Regions from separate parts of the Homo sapiens genome. Here regions 1 and 2 are each linked to region 3. Evidence: promoter capture Hi-C in 16 types of primary human blood cells and fetal thymus (Javierre and others, 2016). All regions are on one chromosome and are shown on one strand. Each heading gives the region's core, a stretch centred on a gene start or on the middle of the fragment in contact. The rest is flanking DNA. Distances are from core to core; before and after follow the strand shown. Region 1 holds the start of MOCS1 (molybdenum cofactor synthesis 1). Region 2 overlaps KIF6 (kinesin family member 6). Region 3 holds the start of APOBEC2 (apolipoprotein B mRNA editing enzyme catalytic subunit 2).

Evidence for each region. The method cuts DNA at HindIII sites, captures the fragments that hold promoters and counts their contacts. A CHiCAGO score of 5 or more calls a contact.
Region 1: a contact is called between the fragment with the promoter of MOCS1 here and the fragment with the promoter of APOBEC2 in region 3, in 1 of 17 cell types (endothelial precursors). The highest score is 5.1, in endothelial precursors.
Region 2: a contact is called between a fragment that was not itself captured here and the fragment with the promoter of APOBEC2 in region 3, in 4 of 17 cell types (total B cells, naive B cells, M1 macrophages and 1 more). The highest score is 8.2, in total B cells.

The regions. Positions count from the first base shown.
Region 1 is chr6:39,931,733-39,936,024 of GRCh38, reverse strand. MOCS1 (molybdenum cofactor synthesis 1) reads left to right here and starts at 1,563. Exons shown (of 11, transcript NM_001358530.2): 1 at 1,563-1,730. The coding sequence starts at 1,608. It overlaps LOC102723789 (a long non-coding RNA gene), which reads right to left and starts at 1,456. Exons shown (of 6, transcript XR_001744112.1): 1 at 1,382-1,456. The HindIII fragment of the contact is 5,632 bases long and covers 1-3,235 here.
Region 2 is chr6:39,339,816-39,343,972 of GRCh38, reverse strand. It overlaps KIF6 (kinesin family member 6), which reads left to right. Exons shown (of 23, transcript NM_145027.6): 22 at 158-264. LOC105375047 (a long non-coding RNA gene) reads right to left here. Exons shown (of 3, transcript XR_926774.3): 3 at 1,272-1,334. Among named protein-coding and RNA genes, the nearest start is that of KCNK16, 19 kb to the right of the region's middle. RefSeq lists enhancers at 1-646, 629-678, 3,953-4,157. The HindIII fragment of the contact is 1,310 bases long and covers 1,849-3,158 here.
Region 3 is chr6:41,051,552-41,055,676 of GRCh38, reverse strand. APOBEC2 (apolipoprotein B mRNA editing enzyme catalytic subunit 2) reads right to left here and starts at 2,475. Exons shown (of 3, transcript NM_006789.4): 1 at 2,199-2,475. The coding sequence starts at 2,329. The HindIII fragment of the contact is 6,727 bases long and covers 1,889-4,125 here.

The sequences.
Region 1 (4,292 bases), core at 314-2,813, 1.1 Mb after region 3:
AGCCCAAGTGAAGGGATGATCACATACAACTTGTATGAAGAGGGTGGAATCTAGAGAGGCTCCAAGGAGCTGGTGACATTCTTGGATCAAGTTCATATGTCAGATGGCTTCTTCCCTGAGGTTGAGTCCTCTCTAGAAGGCTCTTCAAGCCTCATACATACAAAAAAAAAAAAAGTTTTTATCCTTCTCTCCCCCATACCCAGTTTTCCTGATAAATCCAGACATATCTAAACTTAGCAGTGGACAGAGCTTGAACAGTCCTCAGTTGGTCTTCAGGCCCCTTGCAAACAGACCTCTGGCATACTTGTCTCATCAGTTTCAAACACACCCCAGATACACTTTCATCCCCTACAATATATTTTCTGAATTTTGAGTATCATTGTGAGAAATTCACATTGAATCTAAGGCTAAAATCATCTCAGCTTTTCTGACAGTCCCACTGCACTTGTAAAAGTCAGTTATATTCAGTTATTTTTTCCTCTCCCACTATTCGGTCAATTCTTCAAGATCAGGAGCTATATTCCCACTTCCTAAGCATGCACTTGGCAGCTGTATGTTCCAGCCGGTGTTTTATTCTTGCAATTCCACAGGGACAGGGTTTTGGATACAACAGGCTGGTTTGAGCATAATTATTCTTAGTACATAAGCTCATTATTGTGTGTGTTATCCAAAATCTTAAAGGACTACAGCACTCTGCTTTTTATAGAGAGGAAGAGGCACACCCCACCATTCCTAACACATACTGAATCTTGACTGAATGACTGTAGAAAGCAGATTGCCCTGGGTTTGAAACCCACTATCAGCTGTGTGACTTCGAGAAAATTACCTGGTCTCTCTAAGCCTCAATGTCCTCAGTTGCAAAAAGGACATTCTATTCATACCAGGATTGTTTTAAATAACATTTAGCATGGTGCTTGGTGTATAAGAAGCATTTCAAAAATGTTGTCCACTCATTCTGTGACTTCTCATATACTCTTGCCTTCTCCACGAAAAAAAAAAAAAAAAAAAAGATTGTTAATATCCTTTTGGGGCACAACTGGAGAAGTGTATCTTGAAAGACCTAACTGACCGTTTTACAACCACAATCTGCACTATGGTGCACTGAGTGATGTGAGTCATGCAAGTGTAGGCTAAATCTTTTTATTTAGAATGTTGATATTTCACGGACTTCTGAAAATTTATTACGATTTTTTGAAATATTACATTAAAAAATTACTTACTTTGATAACCGCAGTTTACCTGGCACCCTCTTAAATTTTGCATCCAAGGCAGTGCCTCATTCGTTTGGCCCTTGTCCTGTCCTGCCTACTGTCACACCACGACCTAAATCTGAGACTAGAGCAGCCAGAAAAACTGGAAGGAAAAGAACCCCGTTCCTTACCTGAGTTTACCCTTCTGCCCTAGAGCGCTACCCCGGCCCAGGAAAGTGGGCACAGGGAGCGTACTACAGCTCCCACAAGGCCACGCGGGACTGCGTCCTCGCCTATTGGCTGCGCGGGTCCCGCCCTCCCCCTGCCCCTCCCCGCCCTTGCTGGGATGACCCCGGGGGCGAGTGCCCGGCCAGTGTGCTCCCGAAGCGGGCTGCGGTTCCGCTCGTATCAGGCTTCATGGCGGCGCGGCCACTGTCCCGGATGCTGCGGCGGCTTCTGAGGTCCAGCGCCCGGAGCTGCAGCTCAGGGGCTCCGGTGACCCAGCCCTGCCCCGGGGAGTCCGCGCGAGCTGCCTCGGAGGTGAGCCCACCCCGCCTGCGTCCACAGCTTCCCGGGGCAGGAGTGGCCCCGGCACACTGCCCTTTTCCCCCAGTAGCTCCCGGCCTATCTGCTTGACCGCTTCTGGGAGGGACCCGTTGGCACTCCTCAGTGGAGCGATGTTCTCCAGATGGACCGCCCGGTCTCACCCGCTAGCCCAGCGGGAGAGGTTCCTGGGAGTCCCGCTTCAGAACCTCCCTGCCCCCCAGCCACGCCACCCCTTCTAGCCCTGAGCTTGGCCAGAAATTCGGGTAAGCAGAGGACTGGGACTTTGGGTCCAGTGAGGTGTCTTAGTACCTTTCAGCCTTGCCTTGCACCCACCCTCTTTCTTAAACATTTTCCCTCCCTATCCCAAGAGCTGAGAGATCAGGTGTCCCTGTGACACCTGCTTCATAGTGCGACTGACTAAACATGTCACCTCGGTGTCACCAACGATGAGTTGTTACTGTAGTCCCAGGGCTCTGTAACCCATCCTTTGCTGACTCTCCTTGTCTTTTTTATTAACCTTGGGAGGGTTCAGCCTTATCCTAGAGCAGAACAGGGCAGGACGTGGCTTCTTCCAGGTGAGAAATTAATTCCTCTGTCTTTAGGGTTTTGGGTAAGATCCCTCAGTCCTTGCCAGCACCCCTCAGAGTGTTTCAAGTCATTAAAAGTTTTAGGTTTTGGTTGTTCTTCTGCTCAGGTGGTTAGGGAATAATTTGGGGGGAAAAGTACCTCTTTTCATTTAGTGAAACCTCTTTTCGGTACCTATCTAGGCGTTTTTTTCCCCGTCTCCCAGAACTAGGCTTCCTGTCCTGGGATTCATAAGATCACTGCTCCCTCCTCCCCTATATTGCTCAATGACTTCCGCCAAATTTGCTTTCCCCAAATCTAAGCCCCTCTGGGATCCTCAGATAAGCAGGCCCATGGTTGGGAAGTGAAGACTTTTTAGTATCCTCAAACTCTGAACATCATTGAGGAAGAGATAGGAAAGCAAAGATGGCTGAGAGATCTTTAAAGAATTCAAGAAAAGGGACTTTTCTTCTCCAGCCCCCCACCCCCTAGTTTATTTTGTACTGGTCTTTCATGAGAGAACCTGTGTTGAGTGACTCACATGTGGAAGCATTTAGTCCTCACTAAGCCATGTGAGGTGAGTAGAGTTTGTATGTTCAGATGAGGGGGCTAATCTAAGTTAACTTTCCTCCAGTCGCAGAGCTGTAGAGGGCAGGAACTCAACTCTAATGCTTTTCCGTCCTCCCTGTGTGGAGGCCAGGGAGAGAGCCTGCTCCTATCCATCCCTTTACACTGTGAAGGGAGGGGTAATGTGGCAGAAAGGAGAACATAGACTCTGGGGCAGCCCCATCCCTTATTAGGGATTCACCAAGTCCCCTTACCTCTCAGTGTCTGTTTTCTCATCTGCAAAGTAAGAATAAAAGTGTCTACTTCATAGGATGTCACAGGGATTAAAAGAGTTAACGTATGTTAACGTATATACTTAGAACAAAGCTTAGCCCATGTAAGTGCTGTGTTATGTAAATGTTGGTGGTAATTACTATTATCCATGCTGCCACTGGCACATGCTCTGTCCTGTGAGTCCCCTCCCATCTGGACTTGTTGGATAGCTATTCTGTCAACTCACATTGAATCCTGGACATCTCATTAGGATTATCTTCAGCAGACTGGGAGTTCCTGAGGGCTGGGTGCACCTCCGCCTTTCTATCCCCACAAGCGCTTAACGCAGGGTTGTGCAGGCAGTGGATTCAGCCAATAATTGTAGCTGCTTGAAACTTAACTAGTGAGGAGTCACGTGGCATAGTAGACCACACTGGACAGGGAGTCCCATGTTTTCACCCGCCAGTTTCGCCTCCAATTTCACCTGGCTCCTGGGGCTGTCACTTCCCTTTGCTTCATGTTTATAAAATGAGAGGACTGGGCCAGCCCATCATAAGATGGGGGAGGGCACAGAAACTTGTCTTGAGGAGACTCTAAGGGGAGGTGAGTCTGGAAATGGATATGTTCTGCTCATCTCCAGAGCTTGCCAGTTGGGGTGGGGACACCTTGAACCCCTTCTTGCAGGGTCTGTCTCCCCCAACACGCCCACACAGGGCTCTGGTAGTCTGGTTTGGGATGGGAGGTGCTTGGAGAGCTAGGATGGAAAGCCACTGGGCATTGTTTGTGTGGCAGGATGAGGGTGTGAGGGAGAGAAGTGAGGTTAAGTGGGAGCTGGCTGTGAGGATTGCGGAAAGGGGGCTGTGGGCTGAGTCCAAGAACAGGTCGAGTAGCTTCTAGCTATGGAAAGGAGTAGTGTGTGGGTCAATGGGGAGGTGGGTGGGGGAGACACAGCAACCTGCCAGCCTGCATCTGGGGTGGCCCAGACAATCTTTGTAGGGTTCAGCCTAGCCTGGGAGTGCTGTATCCCTCTTTCTCCCTCTGAGGCTCCATGCAGGCTTTGTTGGGCAACAATGAAGCCTGCTGCCTGTGGCGGGGGAAGCAGGGAGGGTGAGTCTAGGCAAGGCAAAGGCACCCATCTGTTCAGGGGGCCAGAAAAAACAAATGCTGGCTAGG
Region 2 (4,157 bases), core at 1,254-3,753, 1.7 Mb after region 3:
CCACACAGAGAAGGTAGGAGGGAGTGAGAAGCAGGCCAGCCGTGTCATGTAGCTTTCTGAGTGAGATCAGTCACCTAAAATGGAAAAGCATTTTGGAAATATAAGTGGTGAGTCCAGTTGTAAAGTGTAGTAAAATGTGACACGTGGTTGCCTCCAGCATCCCCAAGAGGCCAGTGTCGTCCATCCCTCTCACCGGAGACAGCCAGACGGACTCGGACATCATCGCCTTCATCAAGGCCAGACAGAGCATTCTGCAGAAGCAATGTAAGTGCACCTCCCTCGGTGGCTCCTCCTGGGCAGCAGGTCACCAACACTTGTGGGGAGCACACAGTGAGGTGGGAGGGGAGTAGGGAGTTTCCTGCATATTCCTGAAGCCACAGGACTGGCCTGCCTGTCAGTCACATGTGCCCAGCCTCTGATTCCTTCTCGAGAAAGCCTCAAGGGGCAGCATCAGAAACACCAAGACAGGCCCAAGTGGGTGGGCGGCCCAGGTGCTCCTGTCCCTCTTGGCAGAGCTTGCTCTCTGTCTCTTCCAGATCTTCAGCTCCTTTGTTCTCTGTTCCCAAAGTCAGCTGTCTCCTCTGCTCAGGCTTCTACAAACAGGAAGGGGCTGAGTGATGTTTTGGTAACTCGTTGAACCCCTGGCTTAAAGTCTCACTCCCCTATCAGAGTGTGGTTCTTGCCAAAGAGCTGTGAGTGTAAACACTGCTTGAAGGCCCAGGCCCGAGGACACCATAACAATCACAGAGGAAGTAAGAGTGGCGTGTCAGACAACAGGAAGAGAAGAAGGCTCTTCTTGGTCTGCATCACTGCCCCCTCCACCCCCAGCCCCGTCCTCTTGGCAGCTGCCCATCTCCCATCTGCTGTGGCTGGGCCTTTTCTCTTTCTGCCTTCCATCCCCAACACACCCACAGGGCAAGCCCCAGGGCCCCTTACCCCAGGCCTGCATTTTGTCTTAGCCTCCTCCCCATAACCCAAAGGCTACTAGGCAGGCTTAACATTGCCTTCACATTGCCAGAAAGGCGCCCCCACCGTGATGGTATGGGCTGGCAGATTCGATGTATAATGACTGATGCCTGCCCTGTGGCGCCTGCACTCAGCTTCTCCACCAGCCGTGTGCAGTTTGGGCAGGAAGAGGTTTGTGCATGGATGGAGCGCCGCAACTGAGAGCCGGCCTTGGTCCTGTACTCGCCTTGCTTGGCCGCCAGCCTGCTTATTTACTATCCTCTCTTCACCACCAGGACCAGCAGCCTCAGCAACACTGTCAGGTCCTTTCTTAAGCCTGAGACAGCCCCACCTCTGCTGTGATCTTGTCTCATTCTCAGTTTCCTTGTCTAAAAATAAAAAAAAATAAAAAAAAATAAAAAAAAATAAAAAACTGGATTCAGTGATCTCCAAGTCCCCATCTATGCCCCAAATACTCTGATGATAGGTATCAGGCACTGAACAGCAATGAACAGCCAATCAGTCAGCAAACACTGTATATGTTGGGTGCCTTCTTATGCCAGGCACTACTACTAGTGCTGGTGCTACAGCAGAGAACAAGACAGAACCCAGCACGTGAGAAACTGACATTCTAGGGGGAGGAAGGAGACAGACAATGAACACGTCGACAAATACGTAAGATTGTTTGAGGGGATAATAAGTGCTATGAAATAGCTAAACTATGTAATGTTGTAGACAGTAACTGGGAAGACTGCTTTTAGCTGGGTAGGTTGGGGAGGCCTTGCTGGAGAAGATAACTTTAAACTGACAGCTGCATCATGAGAATGGAGCAGCTACGCCGCGTTCTGGGAATGCACAGTCCTAGCAGACAGAGCGGAAAGCGAGAAGCCTGAAGGGGAAGCTTTGCTTGGCCACAGGGTGGGAAGGAAGCTAGAGTGGCTGGAGGGCAGGGAGCAAGAGCACAAGGGCCAAGTCACACCAGCCTTATGCACAGGGGAAAGAGATTTGGATTTTATTCTGGATAGAGTGGAAGCCCACTGAATAATTTTAACCATGGAGTGATATGATGTGATTGATGCTTTAAAAAGCTCACTTTGTCTGTCACATGTAGTGTAGATTGTAGGGGCCAAGGGTAGACCAGTTACCAGGCTACCATGAAAGTGCCAGCAAGGGATGATTGTGGCTTGGACTCACCAGTAGACCAAATATGAGATGCAAGAGAAAGAGGAGAGTCAGGGCACCTCCTGGGCTTTTGATCTGAGCAGCGAAGAGAATGGCAGTGCCATTTACTGAAATGAGAAAGGCAGGGAGGCATGACCATCAGAGGCAAGGAGCTGGAGGGATGGAGAGTTCTGGCTGCCCTTTTTGAAGTTTCAGATGACATTTGATGTCCAAGAGGAGGTGTCGAGTAGACAGGTGAGCATCAGTGGAGCTCAGAGAGAAAGTCTAAGCTAGAAAAAGAAATATGCAAGTCATCATGTCTGGTTGGTGTCTGAAGCCACAGGACTGAGTACAATGTCCTCTGAAGACCAGAGATGGAGGTATTCAAATTGCTGAGAACAGCCCCCTGGGGTTCTCCAACAGTTGCGGAGAGAGAGGAAGCAGAGATGCTGAGAAGGCACTGCCAGGGTGCGAAAAGGAACAGCAGATAAGTGGGTATGGCCTCAGGCACAAGCTGGAGAAGCACAAGCTGGAGAAGCACAAGCTCCAAGGGGAGACGGGCCAGTAGAGTGTGGCAGGATGGAATGTGGACCACTGGCCATTTTGCATGTCAGGGTGATCATGGACAAGCACCATTTAGCCAGGGGACTGGGAGTGGCTGGGGAGAGGGTGGAAGGGAAAGAGGCTGAGGCAGTGAGCAGATACAACCCCTCCAGGGGGTTGAGCAGTGACAGGAGCAGAGAACTGGGCTGGAGCTAAAGGGAAGCAGGAGCCCAGAGGGATGCTTTAAGACATGCTCACGTGCTGAAACATGCATAGAGAGGGAAACTGATGCTGTGGTGGGAGAGGGGAGCAGAGCTGCAGGAAAAACTTCCTTGAGAAAGTAGAGGGGACAGTGTGTGGGGCACAAGTGGAGGAAGGCTTGGATACGCAGGATATCCTTTGAGCTGAGATATCCCTTCCCCTGTAACAAATCCATAGAAACCAACCATCATTCCTCCCCTCAAGAAGCCTACAAGCAAGCAATATCTTTAAGTTACATTCACTAAGCTTTTGTACATATAAGAGATGTGATCATCTAACTCTCTCCAAACAGAAGAGGCGGAAGTCCAGGTCCCTGTCAGAGTGGTGTCCTCCTGCTAACACTGTCCCCAGGCAGTGCAGAGAGCTGGATTGAAGGGCAGGCACTTTTATTAAAATATGTATGGCAAACTACCATTTATAAATGTTTTCATTTTTATTGTTTCATTTGATGCTCTTAACGCTCCTGTAAGGCATGCAGGGCCAAGATTATGATCCCCTGTGGACAGGTGAGGAAAGGAAACTGAGGCACACAGAGGTTGTATCACTTGCCCAAGGTTACACAGCTGATAAATGGCAGAGCCAGCATAACCCAGGTTTTCTGCTCTCTCCCCACTGGGCCACACTGTCTTGAAAAGCTGCAACTACCAAGATATGCCCACTCTGCTGTCAGGAGTTCTCTCGGCCTCAGGAACAGGAACCAGCATTGACGAGGGGAGTGACCGCAGCCTCTACCCACCCTGCAGCTGGGGAGCTTTGCTCTCCAAATAAACAGCAGCCTGGAAGTAATTCATCAAAGCAAACAAAACTTCCACAGCTCAATTTTTATTCCGAAAGGAAGAATATTCATTCTGGCTTTTCAGTGACCACGGGGCCACAAAGGAAGCCAAAGACAGGTTGACACGGGGTCCCTCTGCCACCAGGTCCCAAAGGGCCAGCAGGCGTGACCTCTCAGACATACAGCAGATGGTTCTGGTCCCACCATGTGGCACTTAATATGCAGCCCACTTATCAGGGCACCCAGGCAAACACACAGGCCGGGGCCCAGGCACCTTCTCAGCCAAAGCAAACACCTCCCTCTCCCTGCCTGGGCTCTCGAATCTTAATTTAGCTCACAGCGCTGCCTTGGTTACTTCAGGAGTGCTCATTAAGGGGAATTTGTGACTGTCAGCTCAGGAGCAGGAGCCCAGAGAGGGCAATTTAACATAAGCCTCGCCAGCTCTTAGGCTTCACCAAGGGCCAGGATGAAT
Region 3 (4,125 bases), core at 1,226-3,725:
TCCTACCAGCTACCCTCCTCATGTCGGACTGTTTCCGGAAAAGCTACCTGCTCTTCTGCTAGTTTTTGGCCCAAATATAAGGAGCACTAAAGATCTTCCCTATAGGAGACCAGGCTAGAAAAGCTGCTTTGCTGACCCCCTTGACTCCAGGAGGGAGTCCTGGGGGGAATGCATCTCAAGAGGGAAGGAGAGGAAAGCTATTCCCTCACCCTCTCCCTGCACAGACCCAGCTGCACCTCTGGGCTATTTTAAGCCATCTGTTTACCCAGAGGGGCCCAGGAGACAGCTCTCTACAGCTGTTACTTGTGGCCAGGAAACACTCAGCGCTCTGCTCCCACCTGAACTGTTCACAGAATGCTCAGAACGTTGCCCCTTCTGTGCCCCTTTTTCTGAGCCTTGGGTCCTCACTACCTCCCAGATAGAGATAACGTGGAGCTCTGGGAAACCTGGGATCCAGAATGAATAAGAAACCAGTAGAAAGGATACTTTGCTGGGAGTAAGAAGATGTGCCACCTACCAGTTCTGTGGTTTTGGACATACCATTCAATCTCTCTGAGTCTCAGTTTCCCCCTCTGTAAAGTGGCAATAATATATCTCCCTCTCCTACCTTTGTGCTGAGTGTTGAATGGTCTCATGTTCATGAAACTATGTTGTGATTATAAAGCCCTGGACAAATGTAAGTTATATCAGTGGACTTAACCCTTCAGGATCCATTGCTCTGGGACCCCCAAAGCATGTTCAGCTGAACAAACATAGTCTAATTCTGTTCTTGACCTACCCTCCCTCTGTGTTGGAAAGCCACACAAGAGTGTAGTGTGCACACGCGTGTGTGTATGACTAAGGATAGCGTATACCAGCATGCTTAGGTGTTAGAAAAAGGCTCTCCTTCCATAAGAAAGCCACTGGAATTGAGGACTCTCCTGGCCAGGCTGCCTTAGGCTTTCCCTGTGTCTATATTAATCTGTGCCCAGCTGCTCCCTTAATCCTAGGATGAGGGTGAGATTAGTTGGGTGGGCATGGGCAAATGGAAATTCAGGGGCTACTCTTGCCTCAGGAAATAGGATGCATTTTCCCTTAGGTTCTCTTGAAAATCAGAAAACATCTGAGCTGGAAGGGACCTTACTACTATAGATCTTCATGTTATAAGTGCTAAAACTGTGGCTGACTGGAAAATCACTTGTCAAGCTTGAAATATCAAGTCCAAATTGCCACTCAGGGCTTCCTTTCCCCCTTGAAAGCATCATGCCTCCTTTCTTCCTGAAACTTCTCTTAGTCTCGCACCCACTCTGCCTGTGGTCATTCCTGGAGACCCCATGAAGGGAACGTTTGGTTCAAGGAGGAAATATGGCCTCATAGATTCTCTTTTTATTCTTTGCTCAGGATTTAGAAGGGTCTTCCACTACAGGAATAGAAAGGGAAGAGGAAGAAGACTACTTAGTTTTATTCCTGGAGATGGCATAATCTGGATAAGACAGAGGTACCCTGCACACAGCCCCCTCCTTGCAGTCTGTAGACCCTTTTCTTTGGGTCCCAGTTCCTCCAGGCAATGCCTGAGCATGTTGGAACAGCTCCTGTGTCCATAAGCTCCTGGGCTGCGTTATCTGCATGTAATTTCTCTGTTTCTCTGTGGGACAGCCCCTGAGGAGACTCAAAAGATTTAATAAGAAAAAAGCTGCTTCTGAGTCTTGGGAAAGGATGGATCTATCTTTCCTGTCTTGGGAGCATCTACTCCAGGAAGAAGCTCTAAAGAAAGGGCTAGAGGCCTATGGCTAGCGGAGAGACCCACTCAGGAACAGAGAAGTTGAGGGGAAGGGTTGCTTTGAACGGAGCCACATATAGATGTGCCAGTCTCATCCTCTGTCCTCGCCAAACTCCCTGGGACTAAGCTTCTACCCAGAGAGGCAGGTGGCCATCCCAATACCAGGAGGCCTGAAGGGTGGTTTTATTCTCTGGGCTTTTGCCTCCAAGGAGCTCCTCCTACCTCTCCCTGATTAGAGAGCCCAAGGTGTCACCCTGAGAAGCCAAGAGAATTTGCTGCTGGGTCCCCTACCACCCCTGCCGGGCCCACTGGTGCACTCTCACTGCTGCAGGGTTGTAGCTGTCCCTGACGCCTAATATAACCATCCTGAATTTCCACAGCCTAACCCAAGGCTGCACTCTTCTAGGGAGCAGAACCCTGACCCACATCTGAGGCTTACCCTGTGACAATCTCAAAGGGCGGCAGCTCAATCAGCTCTTTCAGCTTCTCAGGGTCGTCCAGGTTCTCCAGATCCTCCCCATTCTGGGAGGCAGCCTCAGTGGCCACAGCAGCCTCTTCCTTCTGGGCCATGGAGGGGCTGTGGCTCAGGAGTCACTGAGGGAGAGGAGAGAGGCAGGCAGGTCTGGGCCAGGCCCTGGCGGCAGAGTCCCAAGCAGCTGTCAGCAGCTAAATCTGGCTGGGGATGACGGGAAAAGGACCCAGCAGGCCAGGCTTCGTGCTTTCCCCACTTAGCCACAGGCTTTATAGCCAAGGCCTCCTGCCCCTCCCCCAGGCTCTCTCCCTCTATCTTTTTTTAATTGAGTGACAGCGGGTGCTGGGGTGGGGGAATGGAAAATCTGGCCATTAGTATCCCCTATTTATCAGTAGGCAAAGACAGGAACCTGGCAGGTGGGTATGGCTTGGCCTGCTCTCTTCTCCCTCTCCCTCTCAGCTCACCTTATGTTCTCCCCTTTGTTTCCCACCCAAATTCCCTAGCTCCACTGGGGGAGAGTGTGGAAGGGGCCCCAGGGCAGGCATCCTGAGATTTAGGAGGGTGGCCTTCTGAGATTTAAACAGGAGGAGATGTGTGTTGAAAGGGGCTGACTGCAAAAAGACCCAGGCCATTTGCTTTGGGGGAACGTGGGTTCAGGAAAGGAGGGGTCCTGGCAGAGGTGGGATCAAAACTGACAATTTGGGGAGTAAGTGTGTGAGTTATGACTCAAAAGCGGTGGGTGCTGATTTGCCTGTTACAAAGCCATAATGTAATGTCAAATCGATCAGGAGCCTCCCTGAGTAACAATAGCTGCCATTTACTTAGCTCAGAGATTTTGAAACAGGCCAGGCAGTGGGTTTAGGGGTTTAAATGAAATCAGATGCATGCTTGCCACAGCCATGGGAGGCGATGTGTATTATCCCAAGTTACAGGTAAACTGAGTCACAGAAGTGTGCAGAGCCGGGATTAAAATGCAGGCTTTTGTACTTCAGGCCAAATATTCAACCTCCATGCTATGTGCCCTCACAGTCAGTCTTTTATTCTTCTTAACAAATATTTATTGAGTATCTACTCTATGCCAGGTGCTGTTTCAGGTACTGGGAATATGGCAAAAGAACAAAGCAAATGAAAATCCCTGCTGTGATGATTTGTGGAGCTTGAGGAACTGAACAACAAATAAGGTAAGTAAAATACATGGTCTATTTTGTGATGACAAGTGCCAAGGAGAAAAGACAGGAAATGGAAACAGGAAGTGCTAAGAGGTGGGGTTACGTACTTATAGGATGGCCAGGGTGAAGGACTTTGAAAAGGAGACAATTGAAGAAGACGTGAAGAAGGCAAGGGAACTAATCATTTGGTTGTCTAAGAGGAAAGCGTTCCAAGGAAGGGAACAACGTGAGCAAAGGCTCTGAGAAGGGAGCATTCCTGGGGTGTTTGAGGAACTAGCGAGGACATACATCTGGGTGACTGAAGAGTTCTAAGAGATTAAGCCAGAGAGATAACAAGGGTAAAAGGGACTGGGGCCTTATGGGCTGTCATAAGTACCTTGCTTTTTCTCAGACTGAGGTGGGAAGCCATTGTCTCTGAACAGGTGAGACAGGTGGTCTGAGCACTTGGGAAGAGCAGAGGCAGGGGACCAGTGAGAAGCCTACTGAGGCCAGAGAGAGATGATGGGGGCCCATAGAAAAGACCCTGAGCCGGAACAGCAGCAGAGGATGGCTAGATGATTTTTGCAGCTCTCATGATGGGTACTTAGCAGAGGCAAAAGTCTTCGTGTTTGGAGCAGTGCAAACACTCTAGGCCATTCTCAGGGAAGCAGAAGGAAGGGGTCAGGGTCACTTGTAGGTTGAAAATGAGGAACCTAAGAACACTGGGGAACGGATCTGAAAACAGC